Regions from separate parts of the Homo sapiens genome. Here regions 2, 3, 4 and 5 are each linked to region 1. Evidence: promoter capture Hi-C in 16 types of primary human blood cells and fetal thymus (Javierre and others, 2016). All regions are on one chromosome and are shown on one strand. The core of a region is centred on a gene start or on the middle of the fragment in contact, and the rest is flanking DNA. Distances in the headings are between cores, read along the strand shown.

Evidence for each region. Contacts are between HindIII fragments. The CHiCAGO score rates a contact against its expected background, and 5 or more counts as called.
Region 2: a fragment that was not itself captured here is called in contact with the fragment with the promoter of CENPW in region 1 in 1 of 17 cell types (M2 macrophages); the score reaches 5.5 in M2 macrophages.
Region 3: a contact is called between a fragment that was not itself captured here and the fragment with the promoter of CENPW in region 1, in 2 of 17 cell types (monocytes and M0 macrophages). The highest score is 7.6, in monocytes.
Region 4: a contact is called between a fragment that was not itself captured here and the fragment with the promoter of CENPW in region 1, in 3 of 17 cell types (M1 macrophages, monocytes and endothelial precursors). The highest score is 6.3, in M1 macrophages.
Region 5: a contact is called between a fragment that was not itself captured here and the fragment with the promoter of CENPW in region 1, in 1 of 17 cell types (endothelial precursors). The highest score is 5.6, in endothelial precursors.

Annotation. Positions count from the first base shown.
Region 1 is chr6:126,338,653-126,341,542 of GRCh38, reverse strand. CENPW (centromere protein W) reads right to left here and starts at 1,428. Exons shown (of 3, transcript NM_001012507.4): 1 at 1,144-1,428. The coding sequence starts at 1,269. RefSeq lists enhancers at 1,209-1,258, 1,269-1,538. The HindIII fragment of the contact is 14,002 bases long and covers 1-2,890 here.
Region 2 is chr6:127,262,908-127,265,797 of GRCh38, reverse strand. No RefSeq gene overlaps it. Among named protein-coding and RNA genes, the nearest start is that of RNF146, 2.5 kb to the left of the region's middle. The HindIII fragment of the contact is 2,811 bases long and covers 7-2,817 here.
Region 3 is chr6:127,190,313-127,193,202 of GRCh38, reverse strand. All of the region lies in intron 4 of RSPO3 (R-spondin 3), which reads right to left. The region is part of intron 1 of LOC105377989 (a long non-coding RNA gene); the gene reads left to right. Among named protein-coding and RNA genes, the nearest start is that of RSPO3, 73 kb to the right of the region's middle. The HindIII fragment of the contact is 4,554 bases long and covers 1-2,890 here.
Region 4 is chr6:127,129,226-127,132,115 of GRCh38, reverse strand. All of the region lies in intron 1 of RSPO3 (R-spondin 3), which reads right to left. All of the region lies in intron 3 of LOC105377989 (a long non-coding RNA gene), which reads left to right. Among named protein-coding and RNA genes, the nearest start is that of RSPO3, 12 kb to the right of the region's middle. The HindIII fragment of the contact is 972 bases long and covers 1,025-1,996 here.
Region 5 is chr6:127,077,046-127,079,935 of GRCh38, reverse strand. The region is part of intron 4 of LOC105377989 (a long non-coding RNA gene); the gene reads left to right. Among named protein-coding and RNA genes, the nearest start is that of RSPO3, 40 kb to the left of the region's middle. The HindIII fragment of the contact is 1,715 bases long and covers 508-2,222 here.

The sequences.
Region 1 (2,890 bases), core at 179-2,678:
TCTGGGGGAAAATGTGTTTTTGTTGTGTTTTGGCTTCAGAGACCAAATAAGGGGAAAGGGGCGATAATTCTATAGTAGTTTAGAAAAGGAAGCAACAGATGGGGTGGCAGTGGAGAAGTCCAGGAAGCAAAAGAGTAAAGAGGAGGTAGAAAAACCAATGTCGTTTAAGAACAGCTAGGATGATTCATGCAGTATGCTCTTATTATCCACAATTCTGTACCTTGATCTCCTGGAAATTATGTGTCCATTTATAATGGCTCCTTTACTCAAAGAGCCAAGGACAAGCTACCGAACATGCCTCCAGTGGTTTAAACCTAGAGAAATAGTGTTCATTGTGCCAGAGGAATATGTGTTCCAGGTATTCAACACACAAACTGAATTTATTTCAAGACAGAAACATTATTATACAGTGGTTTGATTGGGGCTTCTTATTAGGAGAACATTATGCTTCAGGTATTATGGGTCAGATAAGCAGGCTTTAGTAGTCTAGCTTAAAAACTGACTAGGTGTTCTATTACTTGTCTAGCGAAATGAATTAACAGTTGAGAGGACTCTTCCTACAAATAAACTTTCCCATCAGGGTCCTTTAGTAAGCACCCTCACCTAGAGGAAATAAGGCAATGTTTGGTTAAATGCGTAAATAGAGGAGAGACGGAGGGAGCCAAGGGAGGAAAGAGGAGACAGGGAGGGAGGCAAGAAGGGAGGCCCTTAAAAGGCATGTGAGCAATGCCTTTTACAATAGCTAAATAAAAATGACCCAGACTGAATTCCAAAATCTATTTTTTAAAGGGTGATTCTTTCATACCCTTTGCAAGTACATTAATCACGGTGCCAGATTGTGTTCCTAAACAGCAATATTTAAAACTGTAAGCAGTAACTGTACGTTAAGCTCATGTGACTAACAGTCTCCCTTTAAAAAGATCCAGATATTTACTTTTCGGCGCGGCCCGGTACAACTGAGCGCCAGGAATATGAACTGACATGCCAGGGTGGGGCATACGTTCCCTGTCATTGTTGGAACTGCCTTAAACAGGGGCCTGAAAGAGCTATAAATTGGCTCGGGGCGGAAAAACAAAGGCTTAAGGTTATTGCCCTTACCTCTCCCGTGCCCCATTCCCAGCCCGAGAAGGGATGGAATCTCACCAATAAGTCACCACTTTTCTCCAGACGAAGTTGAGGCTTCTTTCGCTTGAAGACTCGCTTTAGAAAGCCACGGGGAGCCTTCCGCTTTATCTGCTTCCTCTGGGAGACTATGGTCGACAGCGCCATCCTCTCTGTCAAGTACCAGCTGCCTCAGCTTCCGAGGTGCTCTCTGTATCGCACACAAGCTCCGGGGACACTGGGCCAGCGAAAACAATCCGGTCCGTATGACGCTTCTTCAGGCAGAAAAACCTCAGTCCGAACGTTCGAATCCGCCGCCAACGGAACGCGCCCGGCGCTCAGTAGTGACGTTAACCCTGAGCAAGCCCCGCCCCCGGAGACGCCTGCCTGTAGGTGGAAAACGCCCACGGTGGGCGGGTCCCGGGAATACCTGACGTCATTGAGAGCCTGCGTCCTCCTTTCATCACTTTCTGTATTATAACTTTTGCTCTGTGGAAGTGTTTCTGCTAGGTTCCCTAGAGATGATTGGAAGTTGTGGAGAGAGAGATTGGTAAGCCAAGGCAGTTCTTCAAGCACTCACTCTATACTGTCCCTAATACCAACGAACAGAAGTTTGTGATGTTTTATCAGGATTCCGACAGCACTAATGCCATGCCTTCCTAGCAAGGAATGCATGATTTTCAGATACTAACAGTTAAGAATTTTACACTTCTACGTAATTTCATTTGATCTTATCTTAGGTCTTTTCATGATTCTAGCTTTTCTTTACAAATGCTGCTCCCTTTAATTTTAAGGTTCCTCTCACTTAACCTTGCAATAACTTTCAGGTATAGTTTCATGCTAACTCACTGAACTTTTTGTTATTTCTTCAAGCTGTTAATTTCTCTATTATCTGTGCTATTATAGAAGTATTAATAGTTATCAAACCTTAATGTGCATCAAAATCACCTGGGGGACTTGTTAAACTACTGTTCGCAGGGCCCAGCTCCCAGTTTCTCATTCACTAGATCTAGGAGATACTCAAAATTTGCAATTCTAACAAGTCAGGGACATTGGCATTTGCTAGTCTGCAGACCAATCTTTGAGATCCGCTGTGATTTTAATTATAATTATCTCTAATACTATCTCTATTGAGATTTCAATATTATGTTATTGTGATCTCACGCACACAAGTGATCCTTCTACTATCTGGCCTCCCATTTCTGAGACCTCCTCTCTGCCAGTCATCTTCTACACCCTTGAGTTATTCATGCATGTGGTCATACCCTAGGCGGTGTCATTACTAAATACCTTTACCTTCGGTTTGATCTGCCACTTTCAATTTAGTTGTCTCTCTTCAACCGTATCTTCTATCTTTTGAATTTACTCCCTCCAACAATTCTTCGATGCTACTGGGACTACTGTCCTATCTTTTTCAGTTCCTCTCACCACACCCCCCAGCTCTGCCACCCCACTCTATGCCTTATCTTCCCTCCTGTAGTCCATTATGCATCGATCATCATAATACTGCCCTGTATTTCTCCACAACTTTATAGCCATTCTCTTTTATCCTCACACTAACCTGGCAATATTCCAACTCTGCTTAAGTTAAAATCTCAATCTATTCAACACTTGTATCTGTGTATTAATATTGGCATAAGAAAACAACACTCACAGGTATATGTCTGATCTCAATTCAAATTCATGACCACTCATGTGGGCTCTAAGTACTGCTACAATCCTTTGATATTTCCTAAAGCCATTCATTCATTTACTCATTCTCTTACATAGCTATGTCATGCCTTCTATT
Region 2 (2,890 bases), core at 163-2,662, 920 kb before region 1:
TAAGCTTAGTTTTCTATCTTTATCTTCTTATTAGCCACTCAGTTTTGTCCCTCTATCCTACACAGCCCATGAACAGAGAATAGCTAAAATTTGATATGTACTCGAAGATTCCAGCTTGAAGAGGTAATGCTAATATTAACTAACAATGTGCCAGGTGTTGCTCTAAGTGCTTTATTCATATATACCCACTTAATTCTCATAATAAACTATGAGGTAGGCACTATTATTATTCCCATTTTACAGAGAGAGAGACACACACAGCTGAGATTTGAATCCAGGCACAGACTGTAAGATGTCAGCTAGTTCAACCCCTTCTCACTCATACCCAAGGTCTTTGTATTTCAGTAAATGGTTGCATCTTTCCTTGTTCAAACCCACCTTTAACTCCTCTCTTTTATGTCTTATATGCATTTGGCATATAACCTGTTGGCTCTTCCTTCAAAGTATATCCAACTACTTACCACCTCCGCTACAATCTGCATCATCTCTTGTTTGGATTATAGTGTTACGGTAGACCAGGAACTAGTCTTTTGACTCTATCCTTAATACAGAATCCTAAATAAATCTACTTAAAAAGAAGTGAGATCGTACCACTCCTTTGCTCAAAGTCTCCTGTGGCTTCCCAACACAAGTAAAAACCAAAGTCCTAACGATGGCTTTAAAATCCTCCCCTCATTACCTCTTTGACCCCACAGACTGTTTACCCAGCTTTGTATTCCCAGAAAGCTCTCCACAAGCTGCCAACCTCATAGTCTTTGCAGTTGTGGTTTCCTCTGCTTAGAACACTCTTCCCCATCATGCTCCCTCCATATGTGCTCAGATGTCCAACTCTTCAGTCAGTCCCTCTACTTGTCAGCATATTTTAAGTCATGATGTTTCCATTCCCAATATTTCATATTTCCTCCTTTACTTTTTAATACTTATCACAGTGTAATGGATAATTTATTTTACTTACTAATCTTCATCATATTTCTCATCACATTAGGACGCAAGACACAGGAGGCCAGGAATGTGTGTTCTGTTTTGTATCTCAACTGCCAGGAATAGTGCCTGACACACTTAAAGAGGTTCTCTGTAAATATGTGTTACATGAATGAGTAAATGAATGAATGAATGAATGAATACACACATGGCCGGGCAGTAGCTCACGCCTGTAATCCCAGGACTTTAGGAGGCCGAAGTGGGCGGATCACGAGGTCAGTAGATCAAGACCACCGTGGCTAACACAGTGAAACCCTGTCTCTACTAAAAACACAAAAAAATTAGCTGGGCATGGTGGCACGCGCCTGTAATCCCAGCTACTCGGGAGGCTGAGGCAGGAGAATCGCTTGAACCTGGGAGGCGGAAGTTGCCCGAGATCGTGTCACTGCACTCCAGCCTGCACTGCAACAGAGCAAGACTCCGTCTCAAAAAAACCCCAAAAACCACATTTGTGTATGTGAGTGTGTATATATATCCCCATTTATATATATATATGAATATATATATATCTCCATTTATATATATATATGAATATATCCCCATTTGTATATATATATGAATAAAAGTGAACTTCTCATTTTTCAGTAGTTGCATATGAAAAGCAGAATTGAATGCATGGAATACTATACACCCTACCTCCATCAGCCACTTGAAAGAAAGATAGAAGTTTATATCTTTGAATAACACAGGACAGCACCTCTCAACATTGTCAGAGTGCTGGTTTCCAGTAATTAAGAGTAACTGGTTTCCAGTAATTTTAAGTACCAAAACTTCAAATTATTTGCTTAAATAAATCAGAGCCTAACAGTTTCAATGTATTTCTGTAATAATGTTACTGTCACTGGGATTCCATTTTGCTTCATTGAATCAAAGGTAAAGAAGTTGCAGCTGACTGCTAGGAATTACCCAGTTGCCTGTTTGCTTATAGCTTATTGTCTATTTCCCACAACTTACAAAATACTTTGCTGAATACCACACATCTCCAGGCACCTACTCTTCTCCATTTATCCTTCCAACACTCAAAAATTGTCCAATGTTATTTGTTTTACTTAAGGATCAAAGCATTTTTTTTTGTTTACTTAATATCTGAAGACATCCATGAAAATGCATGAGAAAATGATGTGTTACAATAGAATGTACGTTGAAACCACTCGTGGCTAGTTTAGGGCGGCGGTGTTCCAAGTGTTATCTAGTGACCCATAGGGGTCCTTTGACTCTTGCAGAGTGTCTGAGGGAAAATTGTTCTTATAATAATACTAAGACTCTAGTTGCTTTGTTTACTTGCACTCTCAAATGTACAGTGGAGTTTTCCAGAAGCTACATGGTATGTGATGTAGCAATAGATTGATTATAGAAGCAGATATGAGAATTTGACTATATCTATTAAACCAGTCATTAAAACGATGTAAAAAAAAAAAAAAAGTAAAACTGCACTCTTCTTTCATTCAGTTAGCTTTGTTTTGGAAAATGTAGTGTTTTTTTTTTTAATAAAGTATGTTAATACAATGAGTCATTTTTAAATGAATTAGTATATATTGTAAACCATTCTCAATTTCAACTTTTAATTTGGTAAATATTGATTAGCTCATAAAAGTTTTTTGGGGTCTTCTATAAATTAGCACTGTCAAAGGGTCCTGAGACCAAATAAGAATGCTTGTCTGGGGCTATTTTGCTTACCAACTCTAAGTTAAATTTCTTCCCTTTTCACATGCCGGCAACCATCTGATAGCTGTGGACACAACTTTCTCATATGCCTGGAAACAGAACAAACCAGATTCAGGAATGTACCAGTCATTATAGCTAGCAGATGAATGGAAATCAAACCAAGAGGAAGCTTTGGAAAGCAAACTTTGTTTATTTTAATTAAAAACTTTGTTTCCAGAGCTGATACATAGGTTGGTTTCTGTCC
Region 3 (2,890 bases), core at 186-2,685, 850 kb before region 1:
TATGTCCAAGGAATAACTAGTCTGGGCAGTGAGTGAAAGGGAAGGCTCTAGTAAAGTAACAGGAAACTAACACATTGTACATTATTGCTGCTCAACAGAGGGCTATTGCACAACAGAAGAATGAGGTTGTTATTTTTTTACAGGCCATGTGTTAGTGGTTGGAAATGCTAACTACCCTTTGCATAAATATATTTTCTGCTTGTGTAAGAAATAAAATAGAAATACACAAGAGTGGCTGTAGTCCATTAAAAATCACGTGTAATTTGGGATAATTTTGTAAGGTTTTCATTAAAGGGGACTTCCTTTTTTATTCTGGTGACTTTTCATTGATGTGGTTAATATTTTTTTCAGGCTTTTTTGGCAATTTTGCAAACTAAGCATTCCAGTTATGACAATCTGACATATATACACACACATATATATATACACACACACGTGTGCTTTGCCATTCACTGAATATTCATGTTTGTGTGCATGTGTACACGCACGTACCTGCCTGAACTGGGTTTTGGAACATTCTAGTGATTAAAACAGCGTTCATCTCCCCTTGATGTTCTACCTATGAGGGTGTTTGGGTAGAAAACATCAAAGAGAATTTGCTATTAGCAGTCAAGTACAATCTGAGCCCTTGCAGAGAAGCACTATGGTGTAACATTTAAGTACACTGTCCTTAGGGCCAGAAAAATGCTGTTTTCAAATTCTAGGTCTGCCACCAACTAGTTGTGTGAACTCTGGCAAGTTGTTGATATTTCTCAGGATTAACTCTCTGATATATTTAAAATGTGAATAATCCTTACTTCTTGCTAAACTTCATAAGGATTAAATGAGATGCTGGTAGAGCATTTAGCATGGTGACTGGCATATGTTACTCATGGGACAAATGAAAACTAATATTATTAACCCCTTGCACAAACATGAACAAAGCCCCTACTCTGTGCCAAAAATGTGTGATAAAACCTGGGGATATAAGTTAGATATGGAGACTGCCAATAATTATAGTCACATGTTAATGCTAAAATAGAGGTGTGTACAAGGTCCTGTTGGGGGTACAGTGGGAAAGCATTGAACTCCATGAAGAGAGACTGAAAATGATTTCAGAGACTGAAAATAATTCCCCTGATGTAATGATGTTTGAGGTGAGCCTAAAAGAATGACTGAGAGTTTGCTAGGCTGATGAGGGAAGAAGTGCATGCCAGGCAGTGAACATGCACTAAGGCATGCAAGGACATGGTGAATCTGGGGCATTGAAAGTCAACTTCCTTGGTTTGATCAGAGTCTATATATAGAATATTACCCATAGAAGCTGGAAAGATATACGGGCTTCAATTGCCATGTTGGGAGTTTGTCCTGAGGACCAGTGTACTGAAAACTAGAGAAGGGCAAGTATTGAATTCAGATAGCAGGCCAGAGTTTGGATGTTTCTGTGATGAGTTTAGAAAAGGCCAATAGGCTATTCTTACATGTTGACCTTATTTCCTATTTCAGAAAATTGCTGTAAGTAATAAGATGCTGTAGAGGGAATGTAGTCAGTGGTTGGTATTTTTGAGCCTTAATTTTTGAAAGAGTAGCTAAAATCTCCATGTAGACCAAAAAGCCATATTTAAGATTTTGTTGCATAGTAGTATCACATAATTGAATTGATAATTGTTATTTTTAAGATTCTGAAATTATTTTCTGTTAGTATAAACACATACAGTCTTTTACATAAACATTTCCTATGGCCTTCTGCAGACAATGTTCCAAAACATATAAAAATACAGATTCCTAGATCCCACCCTTGGAGATTATGATTCAGTGGTTCTTATGAGGGGCCCAAGAACCTGTAGTCAACAACAAGTTCACACCCCTCCCCCCCAGTTTATTTTGATGTGCAACCACATTTAAAAGCCAAAGCTGCAGAGCAACAGAAGACCCAATTTCTTCAAATATATACTCTCAAAACTTACTTCAAATTGCATGGTTGCTCCTTTGTTTCTTTCATTTTTCCTAATGAATATCAAATACGTTTTTGACTTACTGTAGCTACTAATTTTAAGGCAAGTTTTCTTAATAGATAAATTTGGAATAGGCACCCAGATATAAATTAAATTAATTGCAGGTTATCTTTTTAAAACCTGTTCAAGTGCATATATGAACTAGAAAAAATAAACATGTAAAAAATGACAAAGAGAGTGATCCTGAATTATTCTTCCTAACTTGTATATATTTAAATTCCAAGTGAAAATGCAAACCATAGAACACGTTCAATATCCTTTAAACATAATGAGGTTATGAAAAAAAGAGTTGCTTTCCCTAGAATCACAACTGTAATTCACTTATTGAGAACCACTTAAATTATGAATAGCAGCTATTTTCTTGATGTTTGGATAAAATCTGTCTATAGGTCTTCATAAAAGCTGCTGCTTTGTGAATTTCTTGCGAAGTGTCACTAAGGGGAGCCATTGAGCTGTAAGTAGTTCACTTCCCAAGACAAACTAGGTTATAATTTTTACCCAAATGCTAAAAATGTATTCCACATTACAGACTGAGGACTAAATATCACGAATTATATGACTCAAACCAATTAAATAAGTATTACATTTTTCTTTTCTTTTTATTTGGTGTGGAATGAAATTCAACTGGAAGCCCATGGCTTTATGCCTTCTATAAAGCACTCACAGTGTGAAAAAGGGGTTGATCTTATTATTTTTGAATCTGGAATTGGACCTGATTATTATGTATAGAGAATGAAAATTCCAGCTTTTGTTCTTTTTTCTTTTTTGTTTTTTGTTTTTGAGACGGAGTTTTGCTCTTTTTGCCCATGCTGTACTGCAATGGCGCAGTCCTGGCTCACTGCAACCTCTGCCTCCCAGGTTCAAGTGATTCTCCTGCCTCAGCCTCCCGAGTAGCT
Region 4 (2,890 bases), core at 261-2,760, 790 kb before region 1:
GGTGTTGGGGGAGAGGGGAGATTCCTGGTTACACAATTTTAAGCAACCCTAGAATTTCAGGGGTTTTCCTGCTAGAATATGAAGGGTTTGTATTAACAAAAAGGTATTTCAGTGCCCAGAGCAATTCAAGTAAAGTGTTTGAACAGCCACTTTAGTTTATTGCTCTTGTAAAAATGACTCTCCATTTGCTTCAGGTTTAAAGTAAAGGGATTATTTAGGTTTCAGAGACCCAGTAAATAAATTGTCTATGAGGAAAGAAATTTGTACAAGAAGTGTGTGAAGAGACACACCAAACTTATTCAGTGCAATGGTTCTCAAGGTGCTTGATACATAGGAATGACTTGATCCTCCATGAGTTGCTAAGTAGTCAGCATGAAAGAGCTAGTGGGGGGAAAACTGACATCTGCCAAGATAAATGCAGCACTGTTTTATAAATTAACTCGGCTGTCTGTGTCTTTATTTTTTCTTTGGAAGATTATAAAATTAAGACTGTTCAACTCATCTTAGTAGTGGTTTAGAATTTGTGGAGTGGATGAGGAAGTGAGTTTGAGCTAGGAAGGGTGACGAAAATATCCTGCACTGGAAAATCTTGGCAATTTTCATTTGAATGTGTTCTTATCTGATGACCTAGAGCACTTCAGCCCAACAGCTTGTGAATTAAATAGTTTGGGTAAAAACTATTACATGAAGGTTTCTTGGATCGTAGGCTCTCCTTAGAGCACATACTCAGTTCAGAGGCAAACAGTTTAAAATGAATTCCTGGAATGTCAATGGGATGTCCACATGGATACTGAAGATGGTAGTTATAGCATGAAATTGTTTGGAGGTTCTCTTGCTGCAACTCTCCCTTATTCTGTTAGAAACTAAACTTTGGGGTATGGTCACATAATGCCCACAGGTTTAAAAACACAGGCTGGATATGATAGCAAATGTTATTGATTGTACTAGGGCCAAGTATGCATCTATGTGATACTGCAAGCCTAACTGGCCTCCAAGGAAATCCCACTGATCTGTGTTAAAAGCTTGGATCTACATTAAGCTCTGGATAGAACTGGAAAGTTGGCTGGATGTCTTAGAAATGTGCTATATGAAAGAAAGACTGTCCTTTTAAAATTATATTCAGTCTTTGTGGAGGGGACTGAGAGTTACCATCTTGAGGATGGCATGAAATGAGAGTGTGTGAATTAAAGTCAGAGGGGCTAAGGATACCATGTTTGGACCTTGTTCCTTGTTACCAAACAAGCAACGAGGGTCCTTTTGGACTCCATATAAAAAAAAACTCATCATAAATTGAAAAACAAAACTAAATTCTATAAGAAACAAATATGTAGCTTCTCAGTATGTCCTCAGTTTGTGGCCAAGCAGCATTTGTCCATACCGTTTGTATTTTATGGCAGAAACTACATGACCAGTGGTACAAGTAAACACAGCAAAAAATTTTGCTAAGTTTTTCCAAAATTAGGATTCTTCTATTCTTTGGTTATCTTATTGTCAATTTAAGATGAAAGAAAATTAAATACATTGTTCCACAATATTGGCCATAGTGACAATCAGGTCATGATAACTATTAGATGTGTGCAGTGCACAAGGACAGGGTTTATTTGTCTGCCAGATGATACCTGGAGATTTCCAGTTGCCAGAAAAAGCTGGCCAGAAAAAGAGTTTGACTTCCTGTTTGTAGATTTAAAATAAGCAATATCACTCATCCACATATTTAAACTGAGAACTGGTAGTCTAAGCTCAAAAGAGTGCTGAAATATACTGAAGTCATTCTGAACCATAAAGGAATTTGAAACTTACCACTGTAAGGACAGTGTCTTTGTTCAATTAAAGATCCGTTACATAAAGTGATGGAGTATCTTTTCTGGGTATCCAAGCCAATGGTTTCAAAGGCAAATTTTTACTTTGGGTATTGAGCAAGAATACTTTTGTGCTACTTGAGTATTTTCCTAGGGAAAGGTTTAACAATCTTTTAATTTCTCAAATATTGAAAGCTTAAAATTATAGCACCACTTACTTGTTGATAATTTCTACTTAGATACTTACAACACCATGTTTCTAAAGTGAATTATTTTCAGTACAAGAAATCATAAGTTTGTTCTAGCTCCAGATATTTTAGAATTGCTTGTCTGATATAATGTACTACCATTTTCTTGTTGCCAAATGTTACTTCAATAATATGATATTTAAGTTGACCTAAGGATGTTTACAAGAATTCCTTCCCTTCCATTTCCATGCTAGTCAGACACCTTCTTTTATGAACTTAGACTAGATTCTTTGAGTTCTTTATCTACTCAGGAAGGGAGGAGGAGAACTTGTAGTGATGAATTGGGAGTTCTCTATGTGGGCACGTACATTCACACAGGCAAACAAGGTGGTTTATGAGGATAGTGACATAAACTGCACATACTGATGACGTATTTCCATCTCTTGCACGCTTATGGTAAATAACCTATTGGGAAAAAAATTAGTGAAAAAGCATTGTTTTCTGGTATATTTCCTACTCTCTGGAACTCATGATTGCTCTCCATCCTTAGGGACAATTAACTAGGTCTGACGTTGGAGCAATGGCTAAAGCTCGCTGTGATGACCTTCCTCCCAAGGAGCCTGGCTTTCTTCAGTCTAATTACTTTTGGCAACTGCGGTTATTGGGATTTGGCCTAGTGACTCATTGGAACCCATATTATCCCAAAGAGCCCCCTTAACTAGCAGGATTAAGTCTGTCAGGAAGCCCAGACTTCCACCCCACTTTTACATGGAACTTTCCCCAGTTTATGGCAAGATTTGAAAATCCTTCATGGACTAAAAAAGACTCATAAACACGATTTAATGGAGATAACTACCCAAAGAAGAGCACATTAGGAGTGAAGTAGAAATGATAAGTTCATGA
Region 5 (2,890 bases), core at 116-2,615, 740 kb before region 1:
CCTATGTGACCTTAAATAATCTTTCTTAGCTGTCATGCTACTTTTACACTGCTAAGTTATCTCTGCTTGGCTTGGACCTATTCATATGACACAATTACACATGACAAGCCAAGAACAAATAATATCAAATGCATACTAACATTTCCTAGTCTTTTGGTATTCAACAATCTTGGGAAAAAATAATAGATGGGAAAATCTTTCATATACCAAAATTGTATTATATATTATATACACTTATTTTAAGTAAAATAAACCCACATCAAATGATATATTTAAAAAATATTTATCTATACTTATTACAGAAGTAGCCATAAAGGGCAGAAAGAATACATAGCTCATCTTGCTGAGTGGGAGAAAAAGCCATCAATTGAGGGGCATACAAGTTATGCTGGATCTAATATGGCAAAGTGACCAATGGAGAAGAGGTTGAGAATACAGCATTTGTTGAGATGACAAACCCATGAGTTCCAGGGAGCACTGTGAAAAAGTTGACAAGGCATGGAAGCTTCAGTTAGACCAGTGGATGTGCAGATCCAAGTTGGGGTACAAGTTCAGTTGATGCATAAGGAGTAATGGGGCAGGTCAGAGAGGGCCTATTATGCCACTGTATGGGCTTAGGATATTACTCCAGGTAAGAGGGAGCCATTGGAGCATTTTGAGCAGAAAGTCTTTCTCTGGCCTCTTTTGAGAAAGGAAGTAAGGAAAAAGTGTGAAACAGAGATACCATTTAGGAAATTTTTGCAACAATCCGAGAGGCAGACAATGTCAATTTAGGATAAGGTGGTAGAGATGGTCATGGCTATAACGGATCAGATTCTGGAATCATTTAGAAAGTAGAACCAAGAAGATTTTCTCAAGGATTGGATATGGAATATAAGGAAAAGAGAGGAATTAAGCACGACTCGAAAGTTTTTGTCCTGAGTAACTAGAAGGAGGAACTTGTTATTAACATATATGATAAAGACTGTTCAAAGAGCAGGGTTTGGGGAAGAATATCAGAAATTCATTTTGGAGTTTTATGTTTAAGAAGTAAATTAGACATCTAAATGGAAATGCTGAGTAGGCAGTTGGATATACAATTCTGTAGAGGAGTACTTCAGGAAAGATGTATGGGCAGGAGTATAAATCTATGAATTCACTGTGTATAGGTAGTAAAAGAGAGGAAAAGATGAGCATCGTTTTCTTTTTCTGATGCTCTTCCCAGGAACAAAACTTCCTAAAATAAAAATGTAGGTTCTGGCTGGGCGTGGTGGCTCACGCCTGTAATCCCAGCACTTTGGGAGGCCGAGGCAGGCAGATCACGAGGTCAGGAGATCGAGACAATCCTGACGAACACGGTGAAACCCTGTCTCTACTAAAAATACAAAAAAATTAGCCGGGTGTGGTGGTATGCGCCTGTAGTCCCAGCTACTCGGGAGGCTGAGGCAGGAGAATGGCGTGAACCCAGGAGGCAGAGCTTGCAGTGAGCTGAGACACACCACTGCACTCCAGCCTGGGCGAAAGAGCGGGACTCCATCTCAAAAAAAAAAAAAAAAAAAAAAAAAAAAAAACAGAGGCTCTAGTAAATTTTATTTACCAAGACCTGATTTCAGGCTGGGTGAGATCTGGTGGCACGTTGGAATCTAGTTTCTTCCTACAGGTCTTCAAGACTGTGATGAGTTCAACAAAAAGTAGATTAAGCTCCTTTGAAAGGCAGGATATACATCCTAAATTAAGAAAAAACATGTACTACTGCTATTAAGACAGATTTGTTGATGGTGCTTAGAAGTTTTTCTCATCAAGAATCAGAAGCCCAGTAACATTTCCATTCATTCACTTCCTGATTGAGTCATTCATTCCTTAGCCAGAAACACTCATTAAGTACCTTCTATGAGGAACAGGATGGACAACACTTGGTGTGGAATAATGTAAGGTGTGAGGGAGAAGGAAGATTCTTGCCAAGACTTCCGAGATGTTTAGCTTGGGTAGTGCCTTTTAACCAAGATGGAAATAGCAGCAAGGAGTAGCAGGACAACTGCGTTTGTATAGGAAATTATATTTTTACCTCTTAAAATCAAGAAAATTATAGGCTACTCAAATGAACTGTCTAGTAGGCAATTGTTGGAGTGTGTTCAGAGCTCAGGAGGATATTAGGAATGGAGAGATTCCAGGCCAGAAACCCTGGACCAATTTTCTCCCAGATCATAGCTATATTGGATCTTTCTTTTTTCTAGATCTAAGCTTAAATGTCAATTCCTTAGTGACTTTCCTTTCTCCTACCTTATTCTCTTTATGTCCTGTTCTTCATGGCTCTATATCATTTAATTTTTCTTATTTATTTACTTACTTGTTTGGCGTATTTACATATTTAGTGTGTGGCTGTAGTACTCTACTTTAAGTTTCAAGATGGTGATGACCATGATTATTTTATTTCAGCTAACATAAATGTCTGGGACATAGTGATCAACAAAGCTGTGTACAATAAATGAATGGGATATACAGTTGGGAATTTATAGCATATCACTGGCAATAGAAGCCCAGGATATTAATGAAATTTCTAAGGTTAACAAAGAAGAGGACCAGTGAAATAATCTGAGGACACTTCAACATCAAAGTAAGACAATAAGGAAGTAATCATTAAGGGGATTTTAAATAACAAAAAGAGAGCAATGCCTTGAAACCAAATGAAGAAAGTGTTTCAAGCACTGCACTTTTTTTTTTTTTCCCAAAGAAAAGCAAAAGTTAAACTCCAATTCTTGGTCTTTATTTTTTTGTAGAAAAATAAAACAAACAGAAATCAAATAAAAACAATCTCTAGTCATTTATTATTTTTGCCCTTCTCCTTCTGATCAACTATGTCTATGAACTACAGATATTGAGTGTACGTTCCTGTATGTTTCTAGTTTTTCTT